Linked DNA regions of Homo sapiens: regions 1, 2, 3, 4, 5 and 7 are each linked to region 6. The links are contacts of gene promoters, found by promoter capture Hi-C in blood cells and fetal thymus (Javierre and others, 2016). All regions are on one chromosome and are shown on one strand. The core of a region is centred on a gene start or on the middle of the fragment in contact, and the rest is flanking DNA. Distances in the headings are between cores, read along the strand shown.

Region 1 (3,361 bases), core at 249-2,748, 690 kb before region 6:
ACTTCTTGCACCCAATCCAAAGATCCCTCAGCATTGAAAGGTAACAGTGAGCCCCAGGCTGCCCACTGGGTCTCTTGCCACAGGTACTGCTGCTCCTTACCTGGCCTCTAAACCCACACAGGCAGGCAGGTAAAACAAGAACATCTCTGGGGAATGGTCTAGCTAGTGCCCATTAACTCACACTAAGGATTATGCACACCCGAGACTTGAGCCAGAAAGTTACATGAACCAAGTGAGTCAAGACCAATAGATAACGATCAAGGACTTCTAAAATACAGTCTTTGAAAATGCAATCATTCCTAGGCAAAATCCATGCAGTCGAAGAATAACATTTAGAGAAAGGGCCTTAAAACATTTGACATTGGTAGATGGTAAGAGTAAAAAAAGAGTTGAAGTGGGGTATGATCCCAAACAATTTTGAGAGATCAGATTCACCAAACAGATGTTGATTTTGATAAGTCTAATTTCAAATACAGAGGACAACACGACTGTAAATGCCCCAGAACAAGCGAGAAGCAAACTAAACCATGAAATTAACTTAATAGTCAATGAGCACTTACTATGTGTGCCACTGGATGGAGCCACCCAACTTTGTTAGGTAGGTACTGCCTCCATTCCCACAAGAAGCAAGACCACTGAATGAGTGCAAGACCACTCATGCAATTTGCTCTGGCAACCAGGCCAGAGCAAATTCTATAGTGAAGAAAGGCTCTCCTAGCACAGTGGTGGTACCTCTGCAGCAGAAAAACCCCCACCACAAGAACTGAGAAATGGAAGCCAGGCTGTGTGATTACAGCACAGTGCCAGGGAGAGGCTGAAGAATGTCAAACCAGCCATGATGACAAGACATGTCCACAGAGGCAGGAGTCCCCACCCATGTTACTCAAAGGATATATTCCACTTAAAACCAGCGTACAGGGCAGGAAGACCACTATTGTGGCTTGAGAAATGACCACAGAGCCTAGGTGTAGCTAAAAGTGGCCACAAGCTTCTCTGGAACTTTCAACACTTCTATAATTTATACCTTTGTCTTTTAATATCTGGAGTTCAAATCAGGCTTTCTAAGTTCTAATTTCCAAACGGAATTTAATTCCTAGGCACACTACTGTGTCTTTTGATCTTCACCAGGCCCAAAGAATCACTCCTCTATAGGCACAAGATGGTCTGGGGAGGGACAGTCTGGGCTGAGATTCTACCCCAGCCATTTCTGGCTACACAACCCAAGTCAAGTGATTTACTTATCTTTGCCTCAGTTTCCTCATCTGTGAAAATGTGGATCATGGTACCCACCTCATAGGCCTCTTGGAGTTGTTGTTGTTGTTGTTGTTGTTGTTGTTTTGAGACGGAGTCTTGCTCTGTCGCCCGGGCTGGAGTGCACTGGTACGATCTTGGCTCATTGCAACCTCCACTTCCCTGGTTCAAGCGATTCTTCTGCCTCAGCCTCCCAAGTAGCTGGGACTACAGGTGCCCGCCACCACGCCCAGCTAACTTTTGTATTTTTAGTAGAGACGAGGTGTTACCATATTGGCCAGGCTGGTCTCGAACACCTGACCTCATCATCCGCCCGCCTTGGCCTCCCAATGTGCTGGGATTACAGGCATAAGCCACCACGCCCAGACAAGAGTTTTACACAGTGTCTCCTGCCTACTAAATACTGTATCATTTGGTGCAAAATAAAAGCAAAAACCAAAAGTAACAAGAGAAAAGTTAGTTTCATCCCAATAAAGTTGAGGTGGATGGTACAGAGCCGGGGTGAGCCTCCTGCTCAAGGCTTCCAGGGACCCAAGTTCCTCCCAACTCAGCACCCTGACATCACAAGGATGTGGGCCTTGTATCCATGGTCCAGTTGGAACCATCCTCACACTGGGCAGCAAGACAGAGGAAATGACAAAAAGGAACAAGTGCACCTGCCAGCCATCCCTGGCGGAACATTCCCCGAGCTGCCCCCAACAGGGCACCCTTTCTACTTTCATTTCGTTGCCAGAACTTAGTTGCAAGGGAAGCTTGGATATGTAATCTTTTTCCTAGGTGACCATGTGTCAGCTAACATTCTTTGAAAAGGGATACCACAAATAGGGGAGTCATTTTAGAAATTTCCAGTGTTCTAGAAGTTATTATATGGTTTAGAAAGTGAATGAAAGGAAGAAAATAAAAATGCCTCTGTCCATCTCTGCCTCCCTCTAATAGCCACATAGAAAGTGCAAGATCAAAGAAATGGTGGGAAACAAACCCCAGGCACAATGTACTCCTGGTTACTAGGCTGTCCCTTCAAAGGGGGCTCAATCAGGACCCTCATCTTTTAGCACACCTAACAACTAAAACTAACTAGAGAAATTAAATGTGTAAGCTGTAAACGGCCTAGACATACTCACAATGCAATTCCCTCACCTTTCTTACACATTCAACAGAGGGATAGATTTTACCATGAGAACGCAGTCGTGGTTGTAGGGCGTTAAGTGTGCAAAGGTATTTAGTAATGTGAGTTGCTAAATAAATGGAAAGAAACATTGAGCTAAGACATTATCTGGGGCCCCATATCACAGCCCCACGACTCTAATTTAAAAAGAAGAAGAAAGACAGTTGTCTTAATGGTCATTTTCCAGGTACCAGTCAATATCCACAATAACCCCACTAATTCTGTTGGAAATCCTCAAGTGGGAGATATTGTTCTTCCAGAAAATACTAAAAGGCCAAGGCGTATACTCTGTTGGGGGCCAAATAAGACTATTACACAGTGGAGAACAAAACCACACGTGCTCTTGTTGCCACTTAAAGGAGTGCCCACTCTATCCCTCAACACACACACCTTCCACTTTCATTAACTTTAAAAACGTAGGATCCACCCGTGTTCCACCAGTAGTTTTCAGATCCTGCCACCAGGTGGCAGGAGGAATCAACGTCAAGAAGCTGAATCTCCTAATAGAATTAGAAAATGTCAGGATTCCGTAAGGATCCGCAAGAACCCCAAATCCAAACTGTGTTGTATGAATGAGGGAGTTAAGGCTTGAGAGAATGTGGCCTGCTCAGTAGGGACCCTAAGGACTAGCCCCTCAGTGACCTGTGTTCTGTTACTCCACCAATTCATGTTTGGTTTTATTTTTAACTTAGTATTAAGGAACATTTTAGCATCCACCAAAGTAGGAGAATAATAAAATGATTCTCCGGGTACCTGTCAGCCAACTTCAGCAATTAGCAACATTCTGTCATCTTCCCATACTATGTATATTTTTTCTTTTCATGCTGTTTGTTTGTTTGTTTTTTGAGACTGAGTCTCGCTCTGTCGCCCAGGCTGGAGTGCAGAGTGGTGTGATCTCAGCTCACTGCAACCTCTGCCTCCCAGGTTCAAGCAATTCTCCTGCCT
Region 2 (3,425 bases), core at 409-2,908, 610 kb before region 6:
TTTGGTGGTGTGGTTTTGGAAGGTGTCTTTGAATCCCAGTCTAGGGTCACTTTCAAGCAGAACTCTGGTCAGTGTATCTCACCTAAGAGCAGTGGTGATAATCTGGAATTCTCATCTTTTGCTGTTAGAATGGAAAAGATCTTTCCAGAGTTGTACCAGTAATGTCTGACCCCCTTTGGGGATTTTCTAAAGGACTCCTCATGATAAAACCCAGCTATATTGAGCAAAATGTGTCTGGAAAACATCAAAGAATCAGGCAGTGCAATAGGCAGGAATATCGGTCCTGACTGAGACTAGAAGTATTGTGGGGACCGATAGCCACAATAAGAACAAGGATACAAAGATAGAGGCATCTGAGTTCCACCACCTACGTTATTATGGCTGAGCCTCCCCTCATTGTCTTTTATCAGGCTGTCTCTGACACTGCCACTGTTGTCAATAAAGCTGAAAAAAAAATTATGCCATAAACAGGAAAATTTTGAAAATGTTCAAGTTTACCACTGGAGGTCTCTTCCAAAGCAGTGAGATTCAGTAGTTGACTACTACCATTTCGAATTCTTTTTTTTTGTTCCAGCCCAGGCTGGAGTGCAGTGGCATGGTCTCAGCTCACTGCAACCTCCGCCTCCCGGGTTCAAGCAATTCTCTTGCCTCAGCCTCCCAAGTAGCTGAGATTACAGGTGTGTACCACCATGCCCAGCTAAGTTTTGTATTTTTAGTAGAGACAGGCTTTCACCATATTGGCCAGGCTAGTCTTGAACTCCTGGCCTCACGTGGTCCACCACCTCAGCCTCCCAAAGTTCTGGGATTATAGGTGTGAGCTACCATGCCTGGCTTGAATTATTTAATATTATAATTTATTGCCTGTGTTTGGAACATATGACAAATATCCCATAAGTGCAATAAAATACAATAGGTTCTCTGGGTTCTGAAGAGGACTGCTGCTACAGACAAGTTCAACTTCTGTAATTGTATAAATTCTTCATGATACAAGATTAGCAGCATCTCCAATAACAATAGCTTCTAATTATTGATTGGGGGTATTTTCATGTCCTTTACAGAGATTTTTATACATAGGTTAGCTCAGATTACTTCCTAAGTCTGTTTCAGAGAAATGATACAAACACATGGTCCTTCTCTGATTGGCTCATCAATGCCTCTACCAAAAGACCTGAGAATATTTGGTTCAGTAATTTCTCTCATGGGAGAAAGTATAACATTTCTCTGCAGAATTCTCTCCTCAGTGTTGAGCTTGTTTTCCCTTCTGGGAAACTTCTTCCCTTACAGGAAAACACATCAGCAAAATTTTTCTGGCTTTGCTACCTCTGTAAGCTTCCCTAGGCAATAGTAAATACTATCTTCACTAGAATTCACTTTTCTGTCCTGGCACTGAGTCCTACAGGCACTGCTTGTGGTGGTTTTACTCTGTCAACTTAGCTAAGCTGGAGCTATGCTTCCCAAAAGTCCTTTCCCCAGATGGTTCCAAGTGAGGATTGCACACAAGGAAGATTTGCATGCGGTTTGGAAGCTACATAACAGCAGCCGTTATGCTTTAAGTGCCTTGGAGGCCCCAGGGGCTGATCTGCTGGCTAGTCTTGTTAGCATGGGGCAGAGGCAGGGCACACAGCTCCTTCAGCTCCCACTAGATCAACTCCTTCAGCTTCAACTAGTCCTGGGCCAGACACATGCACAGCTCCATAGCAAAAGGCACCGATTGTTTGATAGGTCATCAGCACCACTGGAGTTAGACATCAGTGAAACACAGATTCAGGCTCCAGTTTGCCCTTTTGCGTTCTACTTGACTATTTCCCTCTGCTTCACAGCCAGCTTTTCTTCCCAACTGCCTGCCCTGCTGACCTACAACTCCCTCAGGCCAACCACAGCTCCCCTTCATGGCCCCTTGTTGGTGATTTTTCTATGATGCTACCCAATCTCCTTTCAGAACTATACTTGCTTAGCCCTTGCACAGTTGCATAAAGTCTAAGCTTTATAACAAATCCCTTATTCATACCACTCATAGTGGTTGTACTTCCCAGACAGAGCTCTGATGCTCTACTGCCAAGTACGGTGACAGGGAATAGAATGACAAATGAACCAGAGGAATTCTACTCGAAATCTCAGCTAGTTAATGACTGCAGTCAAATCAACATTCTCTCAAGAGCACTGGCAGAAAGCAAATCAACACACCTGACACCCTTGTTCCTAAGTCATCGAAAACATTCCCTTTTTTATGCTTTCTGATCCAGCAGTTCCACCTCTAAGAATTTATCTCAAGGAAATAACCATAATACTTTGATAAATTATTTGGTGAACCTTTCAAGGGACATATGAGTTAAAATCGATGGTCCCTGAACTGCTACGTCAAGATGGTTCGTTCTGCTGACCGCAGAACTTTTTGCTTTGCTGAGTGTACAGAGATGAATGACTCTCAACTCTGGACATCATAAGGGACATTTAGAAACTGTCTGGGAAAGAGAAAAAAAGAGAGAAGAGGCCAGTGTCTGGAAAGGAGAATGGGTACAAAGCACAAATATCAAATGGCTAAGTTTCTGTTTCTCCATGAAACATTCATGTCTTCTAACTCACAGTGGAGTTGGCTCTGTTTGGAGGTAAGTCAAAGCTCTGAGCCCTGCTTCAAAATGCACATAAGGCAAAAATGGGAAAAAATAGAGAACTTTGGGAAACAGTCTAAGTGTTGAACAATTGGGAATTATTTAAATGAATTGTGTCATTTCTACAAAAAACATACCAAGACATCATCAACTGTATTGTAAAAGAATGTTTAATGATATGAAAAAACAAATCTGAAGTGAAGAGAGCACATTTCAAGTAAAATGTAGAGTATTAACCCAGAAAAAAGACAAAGTGACCAATGAATGCCGGCAGCCGCTACGGTACATAAGGCCGATTTTTATTTTCTTCTTTTTATTTACTTATAATGTCTTAAGTTTCTATCATAAACATGTATTTCTCTTGTAACAAAAAAGCAGCTGTATGCATATTTTTGTAAATTGGGTGAGATTTATTGAGATGGAGCAAAGACACTCCCCAGCTTTTAGGGGCCTGTGAGCCCCGCCAAGTATGAAAATAAAGGAAAATCTTGAGTTCCTTGAAAGGGGAATTCCAGGTACCTAGCTAGCTAGCCGTGAGAAGTAAATGAACAACTCGGTAAGCAACGAGGTAATTAGTGGCCTAAAACAATAGCAAAGGAAGTTGGAGTCAGGAGACATTTGGTGCCCCTATCAAAACTAAAGGTAACATCTGAACCTGTGTTTCTGAGTTGTTTTTCAGAAACCCAGACTCTCACCAAACAGATTCAAGTAGACCCCAGATAAGAGGGAGCTGAGGATTGAACTCTGACCACCATTCTGTGTTCTAAATTTCTTCCTGAGGGATTTGGAGGGAGTCATACCCATGAGACAGAGCTA
Region 3 (2,958 bases), core at 310-2,809, 630 kb before region 6:
TGATAATGCCAGGCTCACACATATAAGTTCTCCAGAAATAAGAACTGCCTGTAATCTTCCTCAGAGGAGCCTGATCTAAGTATCTACTTGAGCTACAATCCCATAGGGTTGGATATTGTCACAGCAACGAAACACCAGCAGGGACCTTGATCCCATCTCCCCACCTACCTACTTTAATCTCTGTCTCGGTCCTGGGGAACAACAATTCTGTGATAAGGACGTCATGCAGGTGAAGTTGTTTAATAGAGCTATGGTTGCTGAGTTCAGTGCTAGATAGGGGACCCCAGATGGGGCTCTCTCAGGTACACATCCCATCAGGCACCCACTGTCACTGTGATTTGGTGGTCTTGTTAGCCATGCACAGTATAGGTTGTGCTGTTTGCTTTTTTGAGGTAAGAGGGGCACCGTATTTCAGACAGCAGGAAAAAACCTGAATTTGTCAATCCTATACATACAACTGCATTTATACTCAGGAGAAATATACCTCTGAAGAGGTTTGCCTCTGTGCCTTTAAGCAAGACATTCGCAGAATAAATCAGAGCTGAGGTGGCTCTGTCTGAGACTGTCAGGATGGCCCAATTTCCAGAATAATAACAGAGATGTGCTTGGATAAGGCAAATTGGCTCAGGACATGAGAGGCAGAGAAAATACATAACACAGCCCTTGGCTAAGCGGAAACTCAATAACTACCGTCTGAATGATGCAGCCAGGTAAATCTCCTAATGGACACCAAGTTGAAAATTAAAAGGAAAAAGAAGAGCACAGTGTTTAGAAAAATGGGTCCTACAGGCTCTTCTCCCTGCTGCTTCGATGCTAGGAAGGTTCTTCTAGACTGCTTTTAGTACAAGAAGCTTGTACAACCAGTTCGGCTGGAAGTGTGCCTGCCACCCTGCCACGGCCCTCATTAGATGACTCTGACCTGTTGAAAAGCTGAAAATAGAACATTGAGCCATTTTCTCTGCAGCTCAACTGTTATAATTGTCTGTCTTTCTAAATATTAGCAGTACCCTAGTTATACCGTCATTTTAAAAATACTTGTCCATTTTTACCTTTTCTTAACACCACTGACCACCACACTACTTTTCTTCAGGGAAAGGTTTTTTATGTAAAGAGAGGAGTGACTTTCATTTTATTTCCTTTCTCCCTAGACAGCTAGAGATATTACTTTAAAAACAAATTCTTGAGGGCTTTTATCCTTGGTTTAAATCACCTGGAAAAATCAGTAGGGAAGAATAGAGTATTTCCTTAGTTACCAATTGGCTGTAGTAACTAAAGCCTGCAAAAATCCATCTCACACTTCCTATTAAAATTTTATAAGCATTAAAAATATTCACTTGGATGCTGTATGGTGTTTTTTCTTTTGCGACCAAGCTGAATTTTTTTCACTCTGACTTCTATAGCCTGGCTGATTTTTCTTATTTACTTACTTAAAATTTTTTTAAATTAATAAGTGAACTCCTGGCAGGGAACAGGGCTCACAACTGTAATCCCAGGGCTTTGAGAGGCTGTGGCAGGAAGATAGCTTGACACCAGGAATTTGAGACCAGCTTGGGCAACATAGTGAGATCCCATCACTAAAAAAAAAACTTTTTTTAATTAGCCAGGTGTGGTAGTATGTGCCTGTAGTCCTAATTACTCAGGAGGCTAAGGCAGGAGAATCGCTTGAGACCAGAAATTCAAGGCTGCAGTAAGCTACGATCACACCACTGCACTCCAGCCTGGGTGACAGAGAGAGACCCTGTCTCCAAAAAAAAAAAATAATAATAAATAAATAAATAAATAAATAAGCGAGCTCCCAGTTCTGTTCAATAAACCAATGGCCTTTGAATTTTCCAATAGGAGTCTCTTCCGAATCTGGAACCAAGCCTTGGCAACACAGAGTGTTGGATGGACAACACACATAATAAACTGTTTACCCTGAAATGCATGTTTCAAAGGCTTCTCTGCATTAGATGACAGACTTCCTACAAATCATAACTAATATTCATGTCAACTTCCCTTTTCCAGCTTTAAAGCTGATACAAATGCCCTCTCTGGTATCTGTGGACTAACATTTCCCTAGCCCCTAGTTCTCACTTTCTATGTGCTTAGCTTAAAGGGCCTGACTCCAACTGGACTGAATATTTTTTTGCAAATCTATGGGCTTTTGAACATCGGACTTTTCAGGAATCTTATTTAAAGCACAAATTTCCAGGCCTCACCTTCCACAGACTCTGATCTGGTAAATCTTAGTAGGATCCATGAGTCTGCATTTTCAACAAGCTTCTGTCCCCACCCCAAGTAAATGGTCCTTGGAATGCACTTTGACCAACATTTCTCCAAGAATGTCAATCTCCAAAGCTTTTGATTAATGCTGTTTTCATTCATTTAGTCAACAAATGGTGGCTAGGTACCCACTATGTGCAGGATGCCACTTGAGGGACAGATAAATTTCATATGGGCCCTGCCCTCAAGAAACTTACAATCTAATGGGAGAAATGAGACGTGAACATCAATAACTAACCAAAGGAGTAAGAGGTGGTCCTGAGAGAGACAGATAAAATATTATAAGAGTTCAGAGGAGAAAGAGGTAACATTGAGATAGAAGGGATAAGGCATGGTTTTATGGAGAGATGAGGTATGCATTAAACCTGAAAGTACAAAGTATTTGGGCACATGGAGGTAGAAAAGCAGAGTCACTGTCAAACATAGCAGGCGCGAGCAAAGCCACAACGTGGGGGAGGATGAGGCTGTGTAGGGAAGAGGGAGGCATTTAACTTGCTTGGAGCACAGGGTGCAGGCAGGGGCAGAGAAGCAAAGGAGCTTATAAAAGAGAGTTGTAGCCAAATCCTGGAGGGCTTTGAATGCCAAGTCACAGAGTAGGGTCACGAGTAAGAGCTTTAGGTATACCCGGAAAACGGGTGACTGTGAGCCGAGTTGCAAGTAGCCACAAGCTGCACTAAGCAGGTAGCAATGTGG
Region 4 (3,099 bases), core at 446-2,945, 710 kb before region 6:
CCTAGTTCTGTAAAATTTCCTGTCATCCTTACTCATTGGATTGATTGAAATTTGAATTTCTACATTTCAAAATCAAAATAGTGAAGACAATTTGTCTTTCAAGAGAATCAGAGGCCTCATAACTCCTGCCAAGTTAATAAGTATGAGTCTTACCTTGTTTGACATTCAGCTCTCCTGCTACATTATCTTCTTTAAGGAAAATTAATTGATTGTAAAATATGTGCTACTTCACTCGCATTATTAAATATGCATTAACATGCCACCAGGACTTCCAAATAAGTTAGGATGCTTACTTATTCACCTTGTCCTAGTCTGTGAATTGTGCTAGAAATTCATTTTTCTTCTTCAAATATTAAGAGTGCCCTTGGTAGACCAAAGTTCTAATTTTACTAAGTAGAACTACTTTCACAGCTTGAAATGCTGATATGGGTTCCCAAAAGGCCTGTGCCTGTAAGACCTGGTGCAGGTGCAATGGTTATGCATATCTATGGATTACCTGGACAGGCTCTCATCTGGACTGTTCCTCAAAGAAGGGAGCACCAATTGCTGTTTTCATGGAGCTAGTACTCCAGTGGGAAAGGTTAAACAGGAGCACAAAGTCAGTGATATGGGTTATAAGAGAGAAATGATCTCACCTCCAAGAAAGGATTTCACAGCTAGAGCACACTTCATACATGAGAGTGGATTTTGTAACCAACGATAGAAATGAATGTTAGGGTTTTTTTTTTCTAATCTCATTTTATTGTACCTCTAAACGTTTTCTATGAATAAGGAACTTATTTCTCATATGGCTGAGGATGGAAATGACTTCATTCAACAGTAGTTGCAAATAAGACGTTTGCTATTTATGAAGGAAGTTCGGATTGGCATTTAAAGTATTGCGTGTATGTGGAATATCTAAGGATTTCTTATTTTATTTTAAAATATTTTTTAAACCTTAAAACAGTCAGCAAACTGGCTCTTGATTTTGTGCAAGATGTTCCCATCAGTTCAGGAAAAATAACTGCCTGAAAGGACAAAGTACACACACACACGTGTGCAAACACTCACACCCACATACGCATACACACACGCGCGCGCACACACACAGGCTAGCATCCCCAGGCCTCAAGGTTCTAAGCAGGGCATCTCAAACCCAGCAGAGTATCATACCAACAACACCCACACCTAAAAACAGTGACTGGGTTATTTCTATTTATTCAGTAGAATCATCAACTGCCCCCTAGATATGGCCGCCTCTAAGAAGGGATACCAACTCAAGAAAGAATAATATGCTCTTCTTGCCCTCAAGGAGAAGGACAGGCAGAAATAAGCATGCAATTACAATATAATTGATGTTAAGGAAAATGGCGGAGGTTTGCACCAAGTGCATTGTATTCTTATATTTATTATTTTTTATATTTTGTCTTGCTATCTTACCAGGGCTGGTCTGAAACCCTGGCCTCAAGCAATCCTCCTGCTTTGGCCTTCCAAAGTGCTGGGATTACAGTCATGAGCCACAACACCCAGCCAGCACCAAGTGCATTGTAAATAATATATAGCTGGAGCTGAGCTGACTGAGGAGTCTGTGACAGCATCACCAAAGGAGGGAGAATTTGATTAGGGCTTTAAGGATGGTCAGGTCACAGTAGGAGGTGGGGTGGGCAGAGCACTGCAAGCAGAGAGAACTATCTGTACAGACTCAGAACCCTAAAGGAGAAGAGCACATGAGCCTGGGATGGAGGAAGGGAACACGGTATAGGGAAAGGGGGCAGGCTGGCATCAGGTCAGGTGGCCTCTGCGTGTGCTAAGGCATTTTAGAAGGAATCGCTCAGAATTTACGCAGTCAAATTGTGATTTTTTTTTTGAGACAGGGTCTCACTCTGTCACCCATGCTGGAGTGCTATGGTATGATCTCAGCTCACTGCAGCCTCAACCTCCCAGGCTCAAGCAATCCTCCCACCTCAGCCTCCTGAGTAGCTAGGACTACAGACATGCGCCACCACACTTGGCTAGTCTTTGTTTTGTTTTGTGTTTTAGAGATGAAGTCTCACCCTGTCGCCCAGACTGGAGTGCAGTGGCATGATCTTGGCTCACTGCAACCTCCACCTCCTGGGTTCAAGCAATTCTCCTGTCTCAGCCTCCTGAGTAGCTGAGTTTACAGGCATATGCCACCACACCTGGCTACTTTTTTTGTATTTTTAGTAGAGACAGGGTTTCACAACGTTGGTCAGGCTGGTCTCAAACTCCTGACCTCAAATGATCCGCCTGCCTCAGCCTCCCAAAGTGCTGGGATTACAGGCGTGAGCCACCGTGCCCGACCTAATTCTTGTATTTTTTTGTAGAAATCGGGTTTCACCATGTTGCCCAGGCTGATCTCAAACTCCTGAGCTCAAGTGATCTGCCTGCTTCAGCCTTCCAAAGTGCTGGGATTACAGGTGTGAGCCAACTGCACCAGGCTGATTTTTTTTTTTTTAATATTACTTTGGTGGCCCCATTGAAAGTGCTTGGAAAAGGAGAGGGATTTGTGTGTGGCTGGGACATCCGTTGGGAAGTTACTGTCATAATCCAAACCAGGCTAAAGGCAGTGGATGCAGACACTGGGACGGAGGTACTAATACTGATGAGGTGACCCCTCCACAATGAAATTCAGGAGTAAAGATGAGGGCCTAAATGCTGCTCTGGCTCTGAAGATTTCTGTTTTCTCCTCTGTAAAAGAGCATAATAATGGTACCTATCTTGGGATTGTTGAAATAATTAAATAAGCTAATATTATATATGTATAATGGACATTTTATACACACACACACACACACACACACACACACACGTATATACATACTTGTGAAAACAGTGCCTGGCACATAGTATGAACATAACAATAGCAGCTTTTGATGCTGAGCAGCTTAAGGAAAGTGTGGAGTCAATGTTTCCAGCTTGGGATGTCAACTTGGAAGTGATTCCCTTTGTTTATTTATTGCTGTTGTTTTAAATAGAGACAGGGCTTCACTCTGTCACCCACGCTGAAGTGCAGTGGCACAATCATAGCTTATTGCAGCCTCAAACTCCTGAGCCCAGGCAATCCTTTGACCTCAGCCTCCTGAGTAGCTGGGACTACAG
Region 5 (3,191 bases), core at 627-3,126, 660 kb before region 6:
TATCGCCTCGGGGGCAGTGAGAGCTCTGATTGCGGGGACCGTGGCCTGCTTCATGACAGCCTGCATCGCAGGTACCGCACCCTGTCCTTTGTGTCCCAGTGCCCACAGGATGAATGGCAGCTTTCAGGACAGGCAGTGCCTCCAGCTTGCATGTGCAGCACACGCTGCCACAGAAAGCTGAGAGTTAGAGCTGCTCTTAAGCATACTGTAAAGTTAAATGTGTGCAGTGTGGTGGAGGAGCTAAGAACAGAATGAGGGTTCAGTGACTTCCTTAATTAATAAAATAAATGGGGCCGGGTGCAGTGGCTTACGCCTGTAATCCCAGCACACTGGGAGGCCAAGGCGGGCGGGTCACCTGATGTCAGGAGTTTGAGACCAGCTGTCAGGAGTTTGAGACCAGCCTGACCAACGTGGCGAAACCGCATCTCTACTAAAAATACAAAAATTAGCTGGGTGCGTGCCTGTAATCCCAGCTACTTGGGAGGCTGAGGCACTTGAATCGCTTGAACCCGGGAGGCAGAGGTTGCAGTGAGCAGAGATCATGCCACTACACTCTAGCCTGGGCAAAAGCGCAAGACTCTGTCTCTAAATAAATAAATATATAAATACATAAATAAAACTAAAAAATAATAAATAAATGGGACTCTGTTCCACTTCTAGGCATACTCTCCAGCACTCCTGTGGACATCAACTGCCATCACGTTTTAGAGAATGCCTTCAACTCCACTTTCCCTGGAAACACAACCAAGGTGATAGCTTGTTGCCAAAGTCTGTTGAGCAGGTATTGTATTCTTGATTATAATTTCTTTATACTCCATTAATAATCAATCAAATCACACCTAAATATCCACTTACTTTTTTTTTTTTTTTTTTGAGACGGAGTCTTGCTCTGTCTCCCAGGCTGGAGTGCAGTGGCGCAATCTCCGCTCACTCATCGACTTAATTTTATAACTTTATGACTCTATTTAAAAGTAAGAACTTATGCAGTGATTCTAACCACCTTTCACTCTGACTTTTCTCAGATAAGGCTAGCAACTATAACACTAGCTAGTGCTACTCAAGCATTTAATATGCACCCAGCTGTGTGTTACGCACTTTGTATGAATTAGCTCACTTAAACCTTGCAACTACTGTATAAGTTGGGCACTATCTTTTTTTTTTTTTTTTCATTCCACAAAATTAAGGCTTAGGGAAGCTATGTCTACTCCAGCAAAATTAGCACAAGTACAAGTGAGATACAAAATTCAGGCTGATCTTCCTGCTAAGCCTATGCCCTTAACTGCTACCCTCTGCTGGCTCCCCTTCAAGGGGATCCAGGCTGTCCAGACAACACGATGATCGTCTATGGTGAACAAGAAACTACCAGTGACCCATGCCAGCCACCCCCACCCTGTACAGTTTTAATTTGCAAAATCAGTGTTCCCACACAAGGTGCCATCCTTAATGTGCAAGTGTTTTATAAGGATTGATTCTATCCTATCTTTGCTTGTTATGGAGGAAATAGGGAAAGTTCTTGAGGACACCCAGAATTTAGGAGCCAAAACAAATTCCCCAGTGTCTCTGTCCTTTAATCCACCCTAACCAGAATGTGAGCAAGAAAATCAGCTTCCTGCCCTGAACTATTTTTAATGTCATTGTCTGCTCACCTACTGTTTCTGCCATCTATGGCTCATGTAACTGTTTCTTTCCACTTTCCACCAGCACTGTTGCCAAGGGTCCTGGTGAAGTCATCCCAGGAGGAAACCACAGTCTGTATTCTTTGAAGGGCTGCTGCACATTGTTGAATCCATCGACCTTTAACTGCAATGGGATCTCTAATACATTTTGAGGTCAGCCACTTCTCCAGTGGAACTCTGAAGTACAGATGCTGAATTTTCTGCTTTGGAAAGAAAAAAAAAAGAAGCTATTGTCCACAGATTGATGCTTCCATAATGGAATCAGCTTTAATTGCAAGGAATGAAGAAAAACAAGAGTGGACCTTCAAAGCTACAACATTTTCCTCCTCCCCTCCCTCCCCACCAGCCCCTTCCCCACCAAGAACTGCTATGATGTCCCAAAGTGAGGTGTTGTTGATTCCAGTCTCAATGGGATTTTCTGACTTTAATGTTTGCAAGGCATTTCACCAGAATACAGCTATAAACGGCCGCTCCCAACAACTGGGCTCTGACTCACCCACACCCACTTAGTGTCCACTAAGTAGTCCAGGGTGACTCAGTTTAAGCACATCTCAGGTGAGGTCACTCTGCATATACCTTGGCTTACCTGAAATAGCCTGAACTTGAATCTCACATAAGGGAAAACTAGTCATCAATCACCAACTCATTGACTACCCTCAGGAAGTCCTGCAGAAATCAAGAGTCCTTGAGGAGAACACGTGGATCATACCAAAACCAGGGTTTAAATCCATTCTGCTTAAGAGTTCTATCAGTCAGTTTAACCATAAATTACGCTACAGAAACAAACAACCCAAAAACCTCAGTGGCTTACAGATTTATTTTTCACTCACATGTTTGTAATGATCCATCTTGGTTGTAATCCATATTGCTTCAGCACCCAGTCTAAAGGAGCAGCCTCTAAGGGGGGCATGTTGGTCTTAAGAGGGAAAAGAAAGGTGGGAACCACATGATGGCTCTTTCATCTTCCGCTAGGAAATGATACCCTTTACTTCCATGACATTCCATTAGCCAAAACAAGTCCTGTGACAGGCACGATGTCAGTCACCACAGTTAAATTATCCTGTCATAGGGAGGGATAGTGAATATTTTGCAGAAGTAATATGATACACCATAAGGGTACATAATATCCATGTCTCCCTTCAAGGAGCCATCCTGTTGTAGGCCATAACGGTAGGCCTATTCATCTGCACATTTGGTAATGTATTCCTGGTGACAAAGCAGCTACTCTTCAATCAAAAGCCGTGTAAGAAGCAGTTGAGGAAAAAAAGTCCTGGTTGAGCTCTGAAAACCTTGCGTTGATAATTTCATTGACCAGGATGGCATCAGTATCAAACTTGAAGAATGGGTGTCAGTGTCTAAGAAAAAGATTCCAGAGACAATGGTGGTGTGCTCTTTAACGAAATGCCCATCACCACTGCTCTTAATAGCATGAAGACCACATGCTGTGAGAAAACACAAACATCAATTACCAAGTCAAGAAACAGACACTGAATGTGAAAAAGGTTTTGAAATACC
Region 6 (3,380 bases), core at 404-2,903:
GTTGCATTGAGCCAAGATTGCACCACTGCACTCCAGCCTGGGCAACAGGAGTGAAGCTCCGCCTCAAACAAAACAAAACAAAAAAAAAACAAAAGAAGCTAAGCCTCAGAACCATTGCACCTGCCATTCCCTCTGCCTGTCCTGCCCTTTCCTCAGCTATCCACATGGCAGGTTCCTCAAGTCTTGCAGGTCTTTGCTGAAACGCCACTCCCCCAGAGGAGACATCCCTGACCACTCTGCCTGGCACTCTTTGTTCCCCTTACTCCAGAGCATCTATCACCAACTCACACACTACATATATTCATTTACTCTGTCTCCCATACCAGAATGTAAATCCTTTGAGGGCAGGGATTTTATCTGTCCTGTTCGCTATATGACAATGACATAGAGTAAGGATTGAGCTCAATAATTACTGAGTACATGAATATCACAAGCTATACATCATAGGGATTAGGCCTCCCTCATCTGATTCAAGACTCAGAGGGGGTACATGAACTGCCCAGGCTCACACAGCCAGACAGCAACAGAACCAAGACCTAGGGCTCTTCACTCCTGTTACATCACACCATGGCAATGATTTTACATTCTCCAACTGATTCAAATCATATGGCAGCTAGGGATTTGGGGGCTCCATGTTTTATTTCAATTGCAGTTCAAGATTTCTTTTTATCTTTGTGGCTGAGAACCCTACAATAATTTTGGAAAGCAAAACCCATCTACCTGGAGTAAATCTTTAATATACACCTGACTACACAGGCCACAACATGGGCCGTTCCTGATTCAGAAAATTCTAGAAGGGTCCTATAGGCCCTTGAAGGTTATGATGTTTTAGCTGATCAAGTTCTGTCCTTTGCTGCCTGTGGTCGAATGGTACAGCAGCTGTCTTTTCTGATAAAGGGCACAGTTAGACTTTGGTTTAAACAGGAAGCCAAATGTTAACTCCTCAGTCTCCAGGTTAGCACACTGGGCTACCTCTGTGGTTTCCACAATTCTCTTCTTTCTTTCCAAACCCTCAGGAGCCACCCTCCATATTAACGCTGTCTCCTTCCAGGTTAAGCTGATGAAAGGAAGGGGAAAACGATTCACTTTCCAAAATTGAATCGGAGAAGTCCAGGGCCTCATAGGAGGAGGCCGCTGTGTGTCCAGATGGCCAAAGGTCTGTGAGAGCCTGGGCCGTGGTTTGCGTCCTCTCGCTAGAGGCCGTGCGCCCTCCCGCCTGGCCCCGACAAGGCGCCCCGAAACCTAGCCCCGCGCCGCTCGCTAGGCCTCCACCTGCGCGGCCCCGCAGCCGCCTGTTCAGGAGCGGCTTCCTCCCTGAGCCTGCGGTCGCCGCAGCCTCCCCGTCTTAGAGCGGGAACCCGGAGCTCGGATGCGGTCCCAGGATGGGCGCCCCGCGAGCAGGCTGGAGGGCGGGGAGAGGGCGCGGCAGCCGCGGGCCTCGGTTTCTTCATCTGCAAAGGGAAGGGTGGGGGGTCCCCAAGACCCCAGTCCACCGGCAGGGACGGCGACGCGTCCGGCCTCCGCCGCGCCCGCAACACTTGTCCCGGGCGCCCCCCGCCCTCTCCCGGACCTACTTCCCCGAGCCGCTCACGCCCATCACCAGCAGCGCGCCCGGCGCCGCCATAACCCAAGCTCGGCTCCTTCCCGTCGCCTTCCGGGCCCCGCCGGCCCCGGCCTACCCGGCGCTCGAGGGGCGGAGCCGCTCTCGCCCCGGCCGGGGCAGTGAGGGCCGTGCCCCTCTGCGCCCTCCCCGTTTTCCCGCGCCCCTTTTCCATGCTTTCCTCCTCCCTTTCCCAACCTCCCGGCCTCTCTCTCCTGCCCCTTCTTTTCCTCTCCCCTCCCCTCCCTCTTTCCTCTTCCCGGAAGTGAAGCGCGCGCCCGGCCTGGCACTCGCGTCTCCCTGGGCTGGAGGGAGCCGCCCAAAGCCCCGCCACCTGTCGTTCTACTGCCCCGGCCCCTCTTGGTTCCAGAGGATCCTCACCCTGGCAGGCCGGATCCTCATCCACCCATGGAAAGCATTCATTCATTCATTTATAAAAATGTTCTTGTAAAAAGAATAAACAGAAAATAAGACTCATAATTTCCCACACCAGGCAGCAATAAGCAGCACTTCCTAAAACGACTCCCCTTTCCCCGCGCCCCGTCGTAGATAGATGGGTATGAGTATTTTGTAAAACTGGGATCAGGCCGTACACAGCGTTTTGTAATCTGGCCTTTTGTCACAATAATAAATGGCGGCCATCTTTTGGTGTCAAACTTAGGGTTGAGTGTTGACCGTAGCAGCATATGTCTTGGCTGTATGGCTCTGCTGTTAAATCCAGCACTGGTTGGGGCTTTAAGAGGAAGGAGCACCACTTTAAAGTGTCCATTTGCTTTAAAACAATGTTAATTATGTGTCGTTTGAACTATTTGATTAAAAGCACTTCTTTTTTTTTTTGAGACGGAGTCTCGCTCTGTCGCCCAGGTGGGACTGCGGACTGCAGTGGCGCAATCTCGGCTCACTGCAAGCTCCGCTTCCCGGGTTCACGCCATTCTCCTGCCTCAGCCTCCCGAGTAGCTGGGACTACAGGCGCCCGCCACCGCGCCCGGCTAATTTTTTTTGTATTTTTAGTAGAGACGGGGTTTCACCTTGTTAGCCAGGATGGTCTCGATCTCCTGACCTCATGATCCACCCGCCTCGGCCTCCCAAAGTGATTAAAAGCACTTCTAACCGCATTTGGCATCACCTCCTTTGGTCTTTTGTTAACCAAGGTAGGTATTACTCTGTGTCCTAGAAAACAATAAAAGTGACATAAAAGCATTTATCTAATGAATAGTTCAATTACCCCTGCACTGCCTTTGTTTTTCATATACTTAGCCCGAGTAGGTGAGATTTCAATCTGGATGGGGGCTGTACAGGTGAAGAAATTGAGGCTTGGAGAGAGGTCTTACAATTCAGTTATGGTCAATACACATTTCTTGAACATCTACCATGTGCTGGTTAATATCATATTAATATTCATTTAAAAGATTACCCTCTAGGCATTCTCAAGCTTGATAAGAGGAATAGATGTGTATGCAAATACTCTTAACTCGTGCCCTGCTTCGCTAGCTCAGTATGAAAAAAAAAAGCTCATATTTCTTTCAATGTTCAAATCAGAATGATTAGCAGAAAATCTGATTCTTCTCCTTGGATTTCTTTCCCCAGACATGTCCAAGGATCTTAAACTTGCTGTGCTGCTCAGGGTGGTGGCAGGAAACAGCATGCTCAAATTGGGGCAGGTGAACAGGATTTAACAAAGGGACTATTAGCACAGGTGTGGGTAGGGTCAGAAAAAGCAACTAGGGGCAGAGTCCACATCTGAGTAACCGAGAAGTGTTTTCACTCTTAAATAGAAAGG
Region 7 (3,107 bases), core at 310-2,809, 680 kb before region 6:
TGAGATGCTGTCTCCTGGCAGAAGGCTTCTAAACAGCCATTGGTTCTGGCTGAAGTGGTAAATGCAATTGGTTCTCTTATTTCAGTTAAGAGAGATAGTAGTCCTTTCCAACACCGTTTCAAAAATTTGTTCTGAAATTGCTTCCTCATTTATGGGATATGGAAGCTAGAAACACCCTAGGAAGTAATCTGTTACAATGTCTTCATTTTACAAACAGGAAATCAAAGCCTAGATGAGGCAATGACTCATTTGAAATGTATCCAAATGTCCTCACAAACTGCCTTAATGTCAAGTGTATTAAATGATAAAATGTTGTCCAAAAGATGTTGAGCATATTACGTTCCATGTGCTATATTAGGAAGAGACACCTCCATGCCTACGTATTAGGAAGTAGTTAGAAATATAGGATAGAGTGAAAGTTTTGTCATAGCAGGATGGCTTTCACTCTCCCTCTGACCTGTCAGTGGGAGGGCACCATGATCAATCAGTAATGTCTGTCCTGGCACAAGATAGGGAACAACACAAATGCCATCTAATCTCAGTACCTGTAAATAAAGAATTGGGTTATAAGTACAAACTGATGGAGATTGCTGATTATGTGTCTGTAAAGAGCTTTTATTTTTACCAACTTTTTTTCTTACACAAGTTGTACCCATTCTCTTTACAATTTATTTACAAAATGAGGATCATAGAACATGGGAGGCTGAGCACTCTTTTTCATGACCCATGGGGCTATGGTCAAAATAAAACTTAATTTTTTTCATTCATCATTCTTCCAATTTTATTCAATGGGAGATATCTACCCTATATTTTATAAAACTGCCAAAAGCCCATGACCCTTCTGAACACTCTTAGTAATAGTCCAATGTTTACAGCCTTTTCTTTTTTTTTTTTTTTTTTTTTTTTTGAGACAGAGTCTTGCTCTGTCACCCAGACTGGAGTGCAGTGGCACCATCTTGGCTCACTGCAACCTCCGCCTCCTGGGTTCAAATGATTCTCGTGCCTCAGCCTCCCAAATAGCTCAGCCTCCCATGTACCGCCATACCCAGCTAATTTTTTTGTGTTTTTAGTAGAGACGGGTGTTTCACCATATTGCTCAGGCTGGTCTTGAACTCCTGGCCTCCAGTGATCCTCCTGCCTCAGCCTCCCAAAGTGCTGGGATTATAGGTGTCAGCCACTGTGCCCAGCCTATTTTTTAAATTTTTAATTGTTGTGGGTATGTCGTAGGTGTATATATATTTACGGGGTATATGAGATATTTTGATACAGGCATCATGGATATTTTTTAACATCAGAATATGCTGTCCCCTACAGTAATGAGAACTGTGAACATGACCCAGTGCCCTAGTTTTCCTCCCTAGCCTGGGCCTGAGTGTCCCCTTTCTCCTTGTTACTTGCTCCCCTGCCAGCCTCAAAGCCAGGATCAGCCTGGCTACCTGCTATGGATATGAAGCTGGCCTTCTTGGGAGGAAGGGCCTGTGAAGTGTTAGAGAGACCCTTTCCCATAGGACCCTGTGTCCTGCAGCAACTGCTCAGAGCTTTTCCTTCAGCCTCTCTCTGAGGGACCTCCTCTCCCTTCAGGTGGCCCCCTGAGCAGGACCCAAGACCAGTTCTCTCCCTCAAGACTAACGTGGGATCTACCAGGAAAATTCACACATCCTTGGCCTATTAAACTGGGCTTGTGCAATCCCAACACTGCAGGCTTTCTGGCTCTGCTGTGCAAGCCGTGAGTCCTGAGTCAGATTTGTCATGCTTGCTGGGCTCCCCAGAGGAGCCAGAACTTGCCCTAACGTCTGATCTCCCTCTCGGCCGCTGGTGAGGTCCCCCAAGGGCAGATAACATATTCCAAGTTCTTCCTTAAATGGAAGCAGGTAACACCTCACCCATCCCCCAAAACAAAGGTGAAGAATCCCAGTAGCTCTCTTAAAGAAATCACCAGACATTCCTCTCCAAACATGCTATCTCCTCTCTGGCCCCTTTGTGCATCCTTGAACAGGTGAAGGGCCCAAGAGTTGTAGAGTAAGGAGACCCAGTACTTAATTTTTTAGCTATTTGCCTTGATAGCCACAATCAAAAAAATCTGTTGCAGTTTCTAAACGCACAACCTACTGGTGCCAGAGTATATTCATCTTGTTTCTATGTTTCTTTGTTAATTTAAGCCTGATGGCTGGGAGTGGTGGCTCGCACCTGTAATCCCAGCACTTTGGGAGGCCGAGGCGGGCAATCGCCTGAGCTCAGGAGTTCAAGACCAGCCTGGCCAACATAGTGAAACCCCATCTCTACTAAAAATACAAAAATTAGCCAGGGGTGGTGGCAGATGCCTATAATCCCAGCTACTGGGGAGGCTGAGGCAGGAGAATTGCTTGAACCCGGGAAGTGGAGGTTGCAGTGAGCCAAGATCGCTCCATTCTACTCCAGCCTGGGCAACAGAGCAAGACTCCATCTCTCAAAAAAAAAAAAAATTAAGCCTGATTATGATTCTCAAGTTAGCACAACAAATGATGCCAATGCCTCCTTTCCCCTTCTCTTAGGGTGATCTGGAGCTCCCTGGTCCTAGCAGTTATTTTCTGGTTGGCCTTTGACACTGCCAAATTGGGTCAACAGCAGCTGGTGTCCTTCGGTGGGCTCATAATGTACATTGTCCTGTTATTTCTATTTTCCAAGTACCCAACCAGAGTAAGTATCCAGTTGATCTTTTAGGTTCTTTTTTCTTTTTCTCCCCATGTGTAAATTGCTCAAAATACTGATTGTGAGAGAATTTAACTATTGTTCAGTACTTTTCTTACCTTGATGGGATTATTTAACGTGACCAGGGTGCCCTATCTTCCTGAACTTTCATGGTACTGTTTGTTACTATTTCATGCTCCATTCTCAGTAATTTTCCAGTTACATAACCAGTGAGACGTTCTCTCCCTGTCAAGTCTAATTTCTTCTCGCATACCCTCCATCAAACACACAGAGAAAACTCATCCATTTTGATCCAGATTTCCCCAGACCAGTAAAAAATCTAATAGTCCTCCATTGGATCCTGCAGTTCATCGAAGTCCCATGCAGTTTGGGCATTTATACTCCAAAAATTTGTCCTTATACAATTTTCTTTTTAATAT

What was found. The method cuts DNA at HindIII sites, captures the fragments that hold promoters and counts their contacts. A CHiCAGO score of 5 or more calls a contact.
Region 1: a contact is called between a fragment that was not itself captured here and the fragment with the promoter of IDNK in region 6, in 12 of 17 cell types (activated CD4 T cells, neutrophils, naive CD8 T cells and 9 more). The highest score is 12.5, in activated CD4 T cells.
Region 2: a fragment that was not itself captured here is called in contact with the fragment with the promoter of IDNK in region 6 in 1 of 17 cell types (naive CD8 T cells); the score reaches 6.5 in naive CD8 T cells.
Region 3: a fragment that was not itself captured here is called in contact with the fragment with the promoter of IDNK in region 6 in 2 of 17 cell types (non-activated CD4 T cells and neutrophils); the score reaches 5.8 in non-activated CD4 T cells.
Region 4: a fragment that was not itself captured here is called in contact with the fragment with the promoter of IDNK in region 6 in 1 of 17 cell types (neutrophils); the score reaches 8.8 in neutrophils.
Region 5: the fragment with the promoter of SLC28A3-AS1 here is called in contact with the fragment with the promoter of IDNK in region 6 in 3 of 17 cell types (total CD4 T cells, activated CD4 T cells and monocytes); the score reaches 6.5 in total CD4 T cells.
Region 7: a contact is called between a fragment that was not itself captured here and the fragment with the promoter of IDNK in region 6, in 6 of 17 cell types (activated CD4 T cells, neutrophils, non-activated CD4 T cells and 3 more). The highest score is 10.5, in activated CD4 T cells.

What each region holds. Positions count from the first base shown.
Region 1 is chr9:84,314,979-84,318,339 of GRCh38, reverse strand. The region is part of intron 1 of SLC28A3 (solute carrier family 28 member 3); the gene reads left to right. Among named protein-coding and RNA genes, the nearest start is that of SLC28A3, 24 kb to the left of the region's middle. The HindIII fragment of the contact is 1,015 bases long and covers 991-2,005 here.
Region 2 is chr9:84,229,121-84,232,545 of GRCh38, reverse strand. No RefSeq gene overlaps it. Among named protein-coding and RNA genes, the nearest start is that of SLC28A3-AS1, 47 kb to the left of the region's middle. The HindIII fragment of the contact is 653 bases long and covers 1,332-1,984 here.
Region 3 is chr9:84,253,067-84,256,024 of GRCh38, reverse strand. No RefSeq gene overlaps it. Among named protein-coding and RNA genes, the nearest start is that of SLC28A3-AS1, 24 kb to the left of the region's middle. The HindIII fragment of the contact is 1,411 bases long and covers 854-2,264 here.
Region 4 is chr9:84,335,423-84,338,521 of GRCh38, reverse strand. The region is part of intron 1 of SLC28A3 (solute carrier family 28 member 3); the gene reads left to right. Among named protein-coding and RNA genes, the nearest start is that of SLC28A3, 3.8 kb to the left of the region's middle. The HindIII fragment of the contact is 3,398 bases long and covers 1-3,099 here.
Region 5 is chr9:84,276,855-84,280,045 of GRCh38, reverse strand. SLC28A3-AS1 (SLC28A3 regulatory antisense RNA 1) reads right to left here and starts at 1,876. Exons shown (of 2, transcript XR_001746802.1): 1 at 1,647-1,876. SLC28A3 (solute carrier family 28 member 3) reads left to right here. Exons shown (of 18, transcript NM_001199633.2): 16 at 1-71; 17 at 661-781; 18 at 1,702-3,191. The coding sequence ends at 1,828. RefSeq lists enhancers at 1,459-2,658, 2,791-3,191. The HindIII fragment of the contact is 13,311 bases long and covers 1-3,191 here.
Region 6 is chr9:83,621,416-83,624,795 of GRCh38, reverse strand. It overlaps IDNK (IDNK gluconokinase), which reads right to left and starts at 1,653. Exons shown (of 5, transcript NM_001001551.4): 1 at 1,575-1,653. The coding sequence starts at 1,624. RefSeq lists enhancers at 1,049-1,098, 1,119-1,248 and a silencer at 1,429-1,958. The HindIII fragment of the contact is 10,566 bases long and covers 1-3,034 here.
Region 7 is chr9:84,299,150-84,302,256 of GRCh38, reverse strand. SLC28A3 (solute carrier family 28 member 3) reads left to right here. Exons shown (of 18, transcript NM_001199633.2): 5 at 1-57; 6 at 2,532-2,676. Among named protein-coding and RNA genes, the nearest start is that of SLC28A3-AS1, 23 kb to the right of the region's middle. RefSeq lists an enhancer at 1-269. The HindIII fragment of the contact is 9,450 bases long and covers 1-3,107 here.